Linked DNA regions of Homo sapiens: region 1 is linked to region 2. The links are contacts of gene promoters, found by promoter capture Hi-C in blood cells and fetal thymus (Javierre and others, 2016). All regions are on one chromosome and are shown on one strand. Each heading gives the region's core, a stretch centred on a gene start or on the middle of the fragment in contact. The rest is flanking DNA. Distances are from core to core; before and after follow the strand shown. Region 1 overlaps S100A10 (S100 calcium binding protein A10). Region 2 holds the start of SNX27 (sorting nexin 27).

What was found. The method cuts DNA at HindIII sites, captures the fragments that hold promoters and counts their contacts. A CHiCAGO score of 5 or more calls a contact.
Region 1: a contact is called between a fragment that was not itself captured here and the fragment with the promoter of SNX27 in region 2, in 3 of 17 cell types (total CD4 T cells, naive CD4 T cells and total CD8 T cells). The highest score is 5.6, in total CD4 T cells.

The regions. Positions count from the first base shown.
Region 1 is chr1:151,986,280-151,990,674 of GRCh38, forward strand. All of the region lies in intron 1 of S100A10 (S100 calcium binding protein A10), which reads right to left. Among named protein-coding and RNA genes, the nearest start is that of S100A10, 5.4 kb to the right of the region's middle. The HindIII fragment of the contact is 1,753 bases long and covers 1,958-3,710 here.
Region 2 is chr1:151,610,120-151,614,724 of GRCh38, forward strand. SNX27 (sorting nexin 27) reads left to right here and starts at 1,931. Exons shown (of 12, transcript NM_001330723.2): 1 at 1,931-2,393. The coding sequence starts at 2,083. It overlaps LOC124904420 (a long non-coding RNA gene), which reads right to left and starts at 3,249. Exons shown (of 2, transcript XR_007066622.1): 1 at 3,072-3,249; 2 at 398-2,280. RefSeq lists an enhancer at 1,707-1,806 and a silencer at 1,847-2,286. The HindIII fragment of the contact is 5,045 bases long and covers 426-4,605 here.

The DNA.
Region 1 (4,395 bases), core at 1,584-4,083, 380 kb after region 2:
TACATTAACTTTTTTTGGCAGACTTTATGCATGAATTTATTTTTTTTAAATTGAAAGATAAAATTGTATGTATTTAATGTGTACAACATGATGTTTTCAGGTATATATACATTGTGGGATGACTGAATCTAGCTAATTAACATATGCATTACCTCCCATAGTTAGCACTTCTGTGGTGAGAACACTTAGCCACTCTTAACTATTTGTCAAGAATACAATACATTGTAATTAACTATAGTCACGTTGTTGTACAGTAGATCTCTTAAACTTATTCCTCCTAACTGAAATTTTCAATCTTTTGACCAATAGCTCCTCAACATCACTCAAATGCAATCACCCCAGCCCATTCTATTCTTTAGTTCTATGAAATTCAGTGTTTAAGATTCCACATGAGTGAGATCATCTGGTAATTGTCTTTCTGTGCTTGGCTTATTTCACTAAGCGTAACGTCCTCCAGGTTCATCTTTGTAGATTTACATTAACTTTTAAGCCATATGTATTGCCAGCCTTTTTAGGATAATTGGAAAGATGGAGATTAGATCATCCATCTGATCTTCTCCAGCTTTAAAATTCAGTGAATGAATCTAAGAACCAGTCCACCCCAGTTTGGGTCCCTTGTTGGTAGAAATAGACACCTCAGATACTGGTGCTGTAAATAAAGGGGTTTAGCTAACTCCAGCTAATTTGCATGAATAATCTAATGAAGAATAGAAACTAATAATTTAGAAAAGCAACATCAGTGTTCCTCTTTTTTTTTTTTTTTTTTTTTTTTTTGAGACGGAGCTTTGCTCTTGTTGCCCAGGCTGGAGTGCAGTGTTGTGATCTTGGCTCACTGCAACCTCCGCCTCCCAGGTAGCTGGGATTACAGGCGTCCGCCACCATGTCCGGCTAATTTTTTGTATTTTTAGTAGAGGCGGAGTTTTGCCATGTTGAGCAGGCTGGTCTCAAACTCCTGACTTCAGGTGATCCGCCCACCTCGGCCTCCCAAAGTGCTGGGATTACAGGCCACTGCGCCCGGCCCAGTGTTCCTCTTTTTAACTGACAAAGCACCTACTGAAAGAACAGATAGTTCATAATTTCTCTTGGCACTAGTAAATGGGATTCTTAGATATGGCTGATACTAACAATCCACACAGTCAAGTCTGGTAAATACGAAAACTTCACCCTTCTAAGCTTAAAGTGGTAACTTGGTTCAGTGTGATTCTAGGGTTTAGAAATCTGCTTACAAATGAATTTATCTGCTGGGTATATATGTATTCTTTTTTTTTTTTTTTTTTTGAGACGGAGTCTTGCTCTGTTGCCCAGGCTGGAGTGCAGTGGCGCCATCTCGGCTCGCTGCAAGCTCCGCTTCCTGGATTCACGGCATTCTCCTGCCTCAGCCTCCCGAGTAGCTGGGACTACAGGTGCCCGCCACCGCGCCCGACTAATTTTTTTGTATTTTTAGTAGAGATGGGGTTTCACCGTGGTCTCGATCTCCTGACCTCGTGATCCGCCCACCTCGGCCTCCCAAAGTGCTGGGATTACAGGCGTGAGCCACTATGCCCGGCCTATATGTATTCTTTACTAAAGCTCTGAACTTGTTATTTACTGCAATAAAGACAGTTGCATCTCTGGCAGTAAAATACAGTTGCTCTACCCAAACAGAAAACTACTCAAAGTCCATTGTCTAGTTCACTTGAGAAGCAACAAGTAATACTATAACCTAACTCATTTGAGGGCCTCCTATGTTTTTAGTGACATTAGACAGATGAGCTGCTCTCACAGTCTGGGGTACAGTGGGAAAGCAAGAGCTTTCATCATGAAGCGTTTATAAGAAAGGAAAGGAAACATGTCAGATCATTACATTTGGGTATAATGAACTAGGGGTATATGTCTCACAAGACCCAGTACGTGGTACTTAATAGAACCTCAGTGAATTTTGGCTTAATTGGAAGGAATCATTTGGCGAGAACAGATAAGCTTTGGCTAATATCACCTAAAATCACTACTGGATAGGAAACAGGTGAACGTGAATGGAGACTGTAATATAGCACTAAAAAATAAAAATAAATAATCACAAGAATAGGCTTTGAGCTTAGATTGAAGGGCTGGCAAATTCCTCTGCTGAAGAGCTCTAATGGGAACCTGAGACATGCTTTGGTCTGGTTCCTATCTCTGAGAGATGCCTGTTCAACACTGATTCTCAAATGCTATCTTTTACAGAGGAGAAGGTGGAGTGGGTAAACATGAGGATTGAGCAATTAACACTTAAGAATTGTAAATTCTACCCCTTAATCTCCAGAAAAGTATGGGAACCAGCAGGCCAAAGAATGCTATAAATCAGAATCTGGCATGAGTCATCTGAAAGGCAGTTAGTTATCTTGGAGAGAGCTGCAAATTAATGCTTCAAGGTCTGCTGTGAGATGAATTCCAGGGGAACCACACCCTTTTCCTTCTCTTCTGACACAGCTCAGATCTGGCTCATCCCCCATCCCTCATATGGGTTTCAGATGGCAGTGGGCTTACAGAGAGTCTGCCTTGCCTGGACTGGTACTCCAAGTCCAGCAATTTAAGAGAACTGAACTGGGCGAGTCACCTCTGGGAGAAGGACGTGGGATCCCACCCCAGTTCTTAAATAACTCAGGAAAGGAGTCAGACACCACAGAGGTTTAAAAATACCTGTGCTCAAGTTCAGAGCAGCAGAGCACTTCAGGATCAATTCCCAAAGATCCCAGAAATTGGAACTGGGTGGGGTACCTAGTTTACTTTTTTCAGATGACAGGACAGAAGGAAAGTGCAGAATTAAGAAAGGGAATGCAGCAGGGTAAGGACCTCTAAATTTTAAAAAGGCTAATTTTAGGAGGTTCTAAGAAATACAAGTTGTCAGCTGAGGAAATCCTGGCCACCCTTGAGTATCTTCTTCAGGAGAGCAAGGTGAGTCTACCTCACACTGTGTGAGTGCTTAGGTCTGAAGTCACTCAGTCGCATGCCTCTCTTGCCCACAGCCATTACGAAGTGACGGAGCTTCCTTCTCTGAAGTTACATCCTTCTCCCACTTGGTCTTCCCCTCCCCTCCTCCCCCAGCGGTTTTATTCAGTGGATGGATTGTGAATATTGCAGCCAGCTGACTCCCTGTGTGTCCAGTAGGCCTTCTGCAATAAGGATGCAGAGGAGGGAGTAGCCAGGAGGTGAAAATAGCATTGAAAATCAGTGGAGAAGCCCTTGTCTCCTCAGCAACCAGTACCCCAAAGGGCACTGACCAGGGCCACAGCAAGGAACTCTGTTTTGGGGAAGGAGTTGCACACTGGCTTTAAAATAAGACAAAGGAAAGGGGGAAATGTTGTGATTAAAACTCTGTTCTCTTGGCTAGAGGATGAATCATGTAACTCTTGTCTGAGTGCAGCCAATGGTTGCCCAACTGAGTCAGCCCTGCCTGGCCCTCCGTTCTTGGGTGGGGCTTGCCTGGGCAGGGCTGTCTGCAGCACTGCTAGCTGCCAAAACTGAAGTTCTTCAGGGACTTCAATCTGGCATTTCCACCCTCACGTAGCCACTCTGCAAGCTCTATTCCTGGACAGATGTGGGCTTCCTGCATCCTGGTTAGACACATTTTGACAGGAGGGCCTTGGGGCTGGGGCTGAGGGGCTGCAGTGTCCTCTCTATCCCCAATAACGTACTCTTGCACCTGAAACATTCAATTTCATTTAATTGTTTACTTGTCTGCCTGAGATTTAAGCTTCTCTTGATTAAGAACTACAAATTATTCTGCTTTTATTCATGGAGCACTATATAACTGTTATGTGCATAAATGAACCACACAATCCCTTGGGCAGTAGCTGAGGTGCAGGTGTGATTACCCAGGACTAGGCTGAAAGCCTTGTAGCTCAGAGCTCAGGAGGACGATGTGAGAGCTGGGAAGGGCCAGGAAAGGGGCCCCAAAAGTGTTCAACTATGAACGGAACAGTAGATAGAGTACACAGGAGTGCACATTCCATACGCAAAAGGAAAAATATGTGTCCTGCTAAACAGGTCTAGTCAGAATGACATGACTGTGCTCCTTCTCTTCTAACACTTGCTATTTTCTCGTGTTTCATTCATCCCATCTTCTACTTTTTGCTTTTCTAGTGCTGCTATCTCACTGCTGAGCTCCACAGGATAATAACAGCCTTGCTGTCCACTCACCTTTTATTGAAGTATTCTAATCTGATGCCTATACATGCCCTCTACATGTTTGTCTGAGCAACAGGTCTTAAGAAGGGAGGCGGAGACATCTTTCTCTGCATAGTTTTCTCTATGGAAAACAATTCTGGACTCCACAAATTTAGTTACCTTAGGAGGAATTCAATTTTCCATTTTTGGTTCTCCCTCCCTGAGCACCTACTTTGAATGTCCCAGACATGGTGTTAGGCATGAGGGTGT
Region 2 (4,605 bases), core at 681-3,180:
CAGGATCTCACTCTGATGGTCAGGCTGGAGTACAGTGGTGTGATCTCAGCTCTCTGCAGCCTTGACCTCCTAGGCTGAAGCGATCCTCCCACCTAAACCTCCTAAGTAGCTGGGACTACAGGTATGTGCCATCATGCCCAGCTGCTTTTTTTTTTTTTTTAGATATAGTCTCGCTCAGCCACCAGCTAATTTTTTATTTTTTGTTGAGATGGGGTCTCACTATGTTGCCCAGTTTGGTCTTGAACTCCTGGGCTCAAGGAATCCTCCCACCTCGGTCTCCCAAAGTGCTGGTATTACAGGCATGAGCCACCACACCCAGCCTTTAAAAATTTGGGGGGACTCTTTTGTAATAACAGTTAGCTTAAAACACAAACACATTGTACAGATGTACAAAATATTTTCTTTCTTTATATCTTTATTCCATAAGCTTTTTTTCTATTTAAGGCAATTTTTAATTTTATGTTTTAAACTTTTTTTTTTGGTTAAAAACTAAGACTTAAACACAAACATAGCCTATGCCTACACCAGATCTGGATCATCAATTTCACTGTCTTCCACCTCCATCTCTTGTCTCACTGGAAGGTCTTCATGGGTAATAACATGCACAGAGCTGTCATCTGATGGTAACAATAACTGGGGCCAGGCACAGTGGCTCACACCTGTAATCCCAGCACTTTGGGAGGCTGAGGTGGTTGGATCACCTGAGGTCAGGAGTTCGAGACCAGCTTGGCCAACATGGTGAAACCCTGTCTCTACTAAAAATACCAAAAAATTAGCCAGGCATGGTGGCGCATGCGTTTAATCGCAAGGGATTTGGGAGGCTGAGGCAGGAGAATCACTTGAACCTGGGAGGCAGAGGTTGCGGTGAGCCGATATCGTGCCATTGCATTCCAGCCTGGGCGATAAGAGCGAAACTCCATCTTAAAAAAAAAAAAAACAAAAAAACAAAACAAAACAAAAAAACACAATACTTGGAATACGTGGAAAAAAATCACAATACTTAGAATACCTAGAATACCTTCTGAAGGACCTGCCTGAGGCTGCTTTACAGTTAACTTAAAAAAAAAAGTAGAAGGAGTACACTCTAAAATAGTGATAAAAACTACAGTGAATTCATAAACTAGTAACATAGTTCTTACCATTATCAAGTATTATGTACTGTACATAATCATATGTGCTATACTTTCACATGACTGGCAGTGCAGGTTTGTTAACACCAGCATCACTCCAAACATGTGAGTAATGCTTGTGCTATGACCTTATGGTGGCTACTGTGCCACTAGGTGATAGACATTTTTCAGCTCCATTATCATCTTAGGGGGCCTCCCTCGTGTTTGCAGTCCATTGTAGACCAAAATGTCCTTATGTGGCACATGACTGTAGTTGCAATACAGGACAAGAAAGTTGCACAATAACTGGGCCTTAGTTCCTGATACTTAGTAGCTGGATGACTTTGAGCACTCTAAGGTTGTTTCCTAATAACGTAAAATAGGGAAGCTAATCGTGATCCGGTTGCCTCACAGGTTGTTGGGCCCTGGTCAACATATAAGTTACTGTGCCAAAAAATGAGTTGATATAATTTAAGACTGTGTTGAATCACAAACGTTAAGTTATTCTAACATTATTGTTTTTTAGAGGTTATGAAATGAAAGGGGGGGGGGCGAAAAACTTGGTCCGCATCAAGAACTGAATCATTTTACCACGCTGGGTGCTGGGTTATACTCTCCCCACCCAGCAGATCAAACTCCTAACCCAGCATGAAAGATAAACTACAACTCCCGGCAGGCCTTGCTTCCGAACTGCGTCTTATAACCTCGGCTCAGGCCCAGGCCCAGACCGCTCCCCGCCCCCGCCACCCATAAACTACATCTCCCAGGAGGCCCCACGGTGCCCGATTGTCCGCTTTTCGCCCGCCCCCTGCCTCCTCTTCACCCCGCGCCAGCAGCTCGGTGGCCGAGTCGGTCCCGCGGCCGGCGGATCGGGCGCGCGCGTCGGGGGTCGTCCGGCTGCCAGGCAGGGCGAGCACGCGCCGGGAGGCCTTGGAGGCGTAGGGGGCGGGGGTACGGCTCGCCTGCTCGCAAGATGGCGGACGAGGACGGGGAAGGGATTCATCCCTCAGCCCCTCACAGGAACGGAGGTGGCGGCGGCGGCGGGGGGTCTGGGCTCCACTGCGCCGGGAACGGCGGCGGGGGAGGCGGCGGCCCGCGGGTCGTGCGCATCGTCAAGTCCGAGTCCGGCTACGGCTTCAACGTGCGGGGCCAAGTGAGCGAGGGCGGGCAACTGCGGAGCATCAACGGGGAGCTGTACGCGCCGCTGCAGCATGTGAGCGCCGTGCTGCCCGGGGGGGCGGCCGATCGGGCCGGGGTGCGCAAGGGGGACCGCATCCTGGAGGTGTGAGTATCGGGGCTACCCGCCGCCCCATCCTCCCCGCGCCCCTCCTGCCCCTGCACTCCTCGCTACCCTTGTCACCCCCAGGCCGCACCTCCCCCGAGCTCCGAGCCGGCCTCCGGACCCCCGCCCCTCAGGCCTCCGCAGCCGGGCCCCTCCTTGTGGGCTGCCCTCCCACCACCCGCCCCGGGGCTTCTGCGACGCCGGTCTCCCACCCCGTCGTCTCCAGCTGATGCCCTTGCGCCCCCAGTGCTCCTCCCTGTGCCCCGATTACTCTGGGCTCTTCTCCGCCCCTTTGCCTTCCCGTTTGGCGTGCTGCATTCTGCTCCTCACTCCCCCTCGTCTTGCTCAGAAGGAACCTCATCTGCTCCTTACTGACGGCGTTTCGTTTTCTGATCCAGCCAGTACCGTGTCCCCCCCAAGTTCTCATCTTCAGCATCGCAGTTTCGTTCTCCACCACTCCCCTCCGCCCCCGTGGACTGCCCCTTCTGCCCTCCAGACCAAGTAGGCAGGACCTCTGGTCTGCTCCTACTTTTCCTCCGGAAACACCATCCCTCCCCGCTCGTCTCCTTTTTCTTTCCTTAGTTACCCTCTCCTCATGGTTACGCTGCCCCTAAATTTTTCCATCCCACCGTGTGCCCCTTTCCTCCCCTCCTTTTTGTATTTCTACTCCAAGAGTTTACCTTGCTTTCTGACCCTTGCATGCCTTTGGGGTGGGGGGCGTGGGATTTGACACCGTAGTTTCTCTTCTCGGTTGGCCCCGTATCACACCCTAATTTGGAATCTAGCGTCTCCATCAGCACACCCCTCTGAGAGCATCCCTTCCCTGGCCTCCTGCCTTCACTCCTGCTCTATACTCATGCCTCCTCCTAGTCAGGTTTATGGTAGACCCCTTGTAACTCCTCCTCCTTCAAAACTACTTCAAGCCCTTTTTGGGTCTTTGACCGCTTTGCTTTTTTAGGGCATGCCCGTCTCTGCTGCCTCTTCTACTCTATCCTCCTGTGATCCCACACTTGACTTTGTCCTAGTCTTTCCCTCCCCTAGGCTGCTTTTCCTTTCTTCTGTTTTTTAAGGCGCCTTCTGCTGCTGCAGCCCACCCTCTCTCCCCTGCTGCAGTCCCTCCCCCTTCATACGCCTCCCCCACCACATCCCTCCATGCTCTTGCGGGATGCTGCCTTGTCTTGCAATCTCTGTGCACACCGCCTCCATTACCCTAATCTAGGTGTTACATTTGCCTTTTTGTACTTCGTATTGAAATTCGGATAGTGATTGCCGGTTGACTTGCAGGTGGTGTGTGCTCGCGTTGTCTCCGTTCTCCTCAGCAGTCTTCAGTGCTGTGTTTCTGCTTACTGAATCTATGTTGTGCATTCCTTTTTTACACTTTTACTCTCTCCCTCCATATTTCGATTTGCCCACTTGAAATCGTTCTCATTTTTTATAAATTTTAATTGTAATTTCCGCAACCTTCTGTTGCCTCTTGTAAAACAGTAGGTTTGCAAAAGGGATAGTTTTTTGAAAATCTGCCTTATAGAGAAATCCATTCCTTCTTACTCATCTCGTGCCATCTACCCTTATCCTTGACATTCTTAACTCCATGGTGTCCACTCATTCTGTTTCCTCACCTCTTCCACCTCAAGAAATGGTTGGTTTTAACCTGGGAGAGTTGATTGAAAAAAAAAAAAAGAAATAGTTGCTCACCTAGGCCAGTGTTTGGAGACAGTATACCTTTCCTCTGTCCTTTCTGTAAATAGATGCTTTCTTGTTTCATTAATGTCCTACATACTGTTTCCTAGTATTCCTAGTATTGTCTGACAATATATTCTTTTTTTTTCCTTGAGATGGAGTTTTGATCGTCACCCAGGCTGGAGTGCAGTGGCGCGATCTCGGCTCACTGCAACCTCCGCCTCCCGGGTTCAAGCGATTCTCCTGCCTCAGCCTCCTGAGTAGCTGGGATTACAGGCATGTGTCATCATGACCAGCTAATTTTGTATTTTTAGTAGAGACGGGTTTCACCATGTTGGCCAGGCTGGTCTGAAACTCCTGACCTCAGGTGATCCGCCCGCCTCGGCCTCCCAAAGTGCTGGGATTACAATAATGACTTTCAGATTTCTTATACTTGGGCACCTAATTATTTTCTTTCTAGATAACTCAAAATTTGTGGCTGATGTTTTCTTCCAATAGAAGGTCTCAGAATTGTCACTTTCCTTTCCCTTTGGA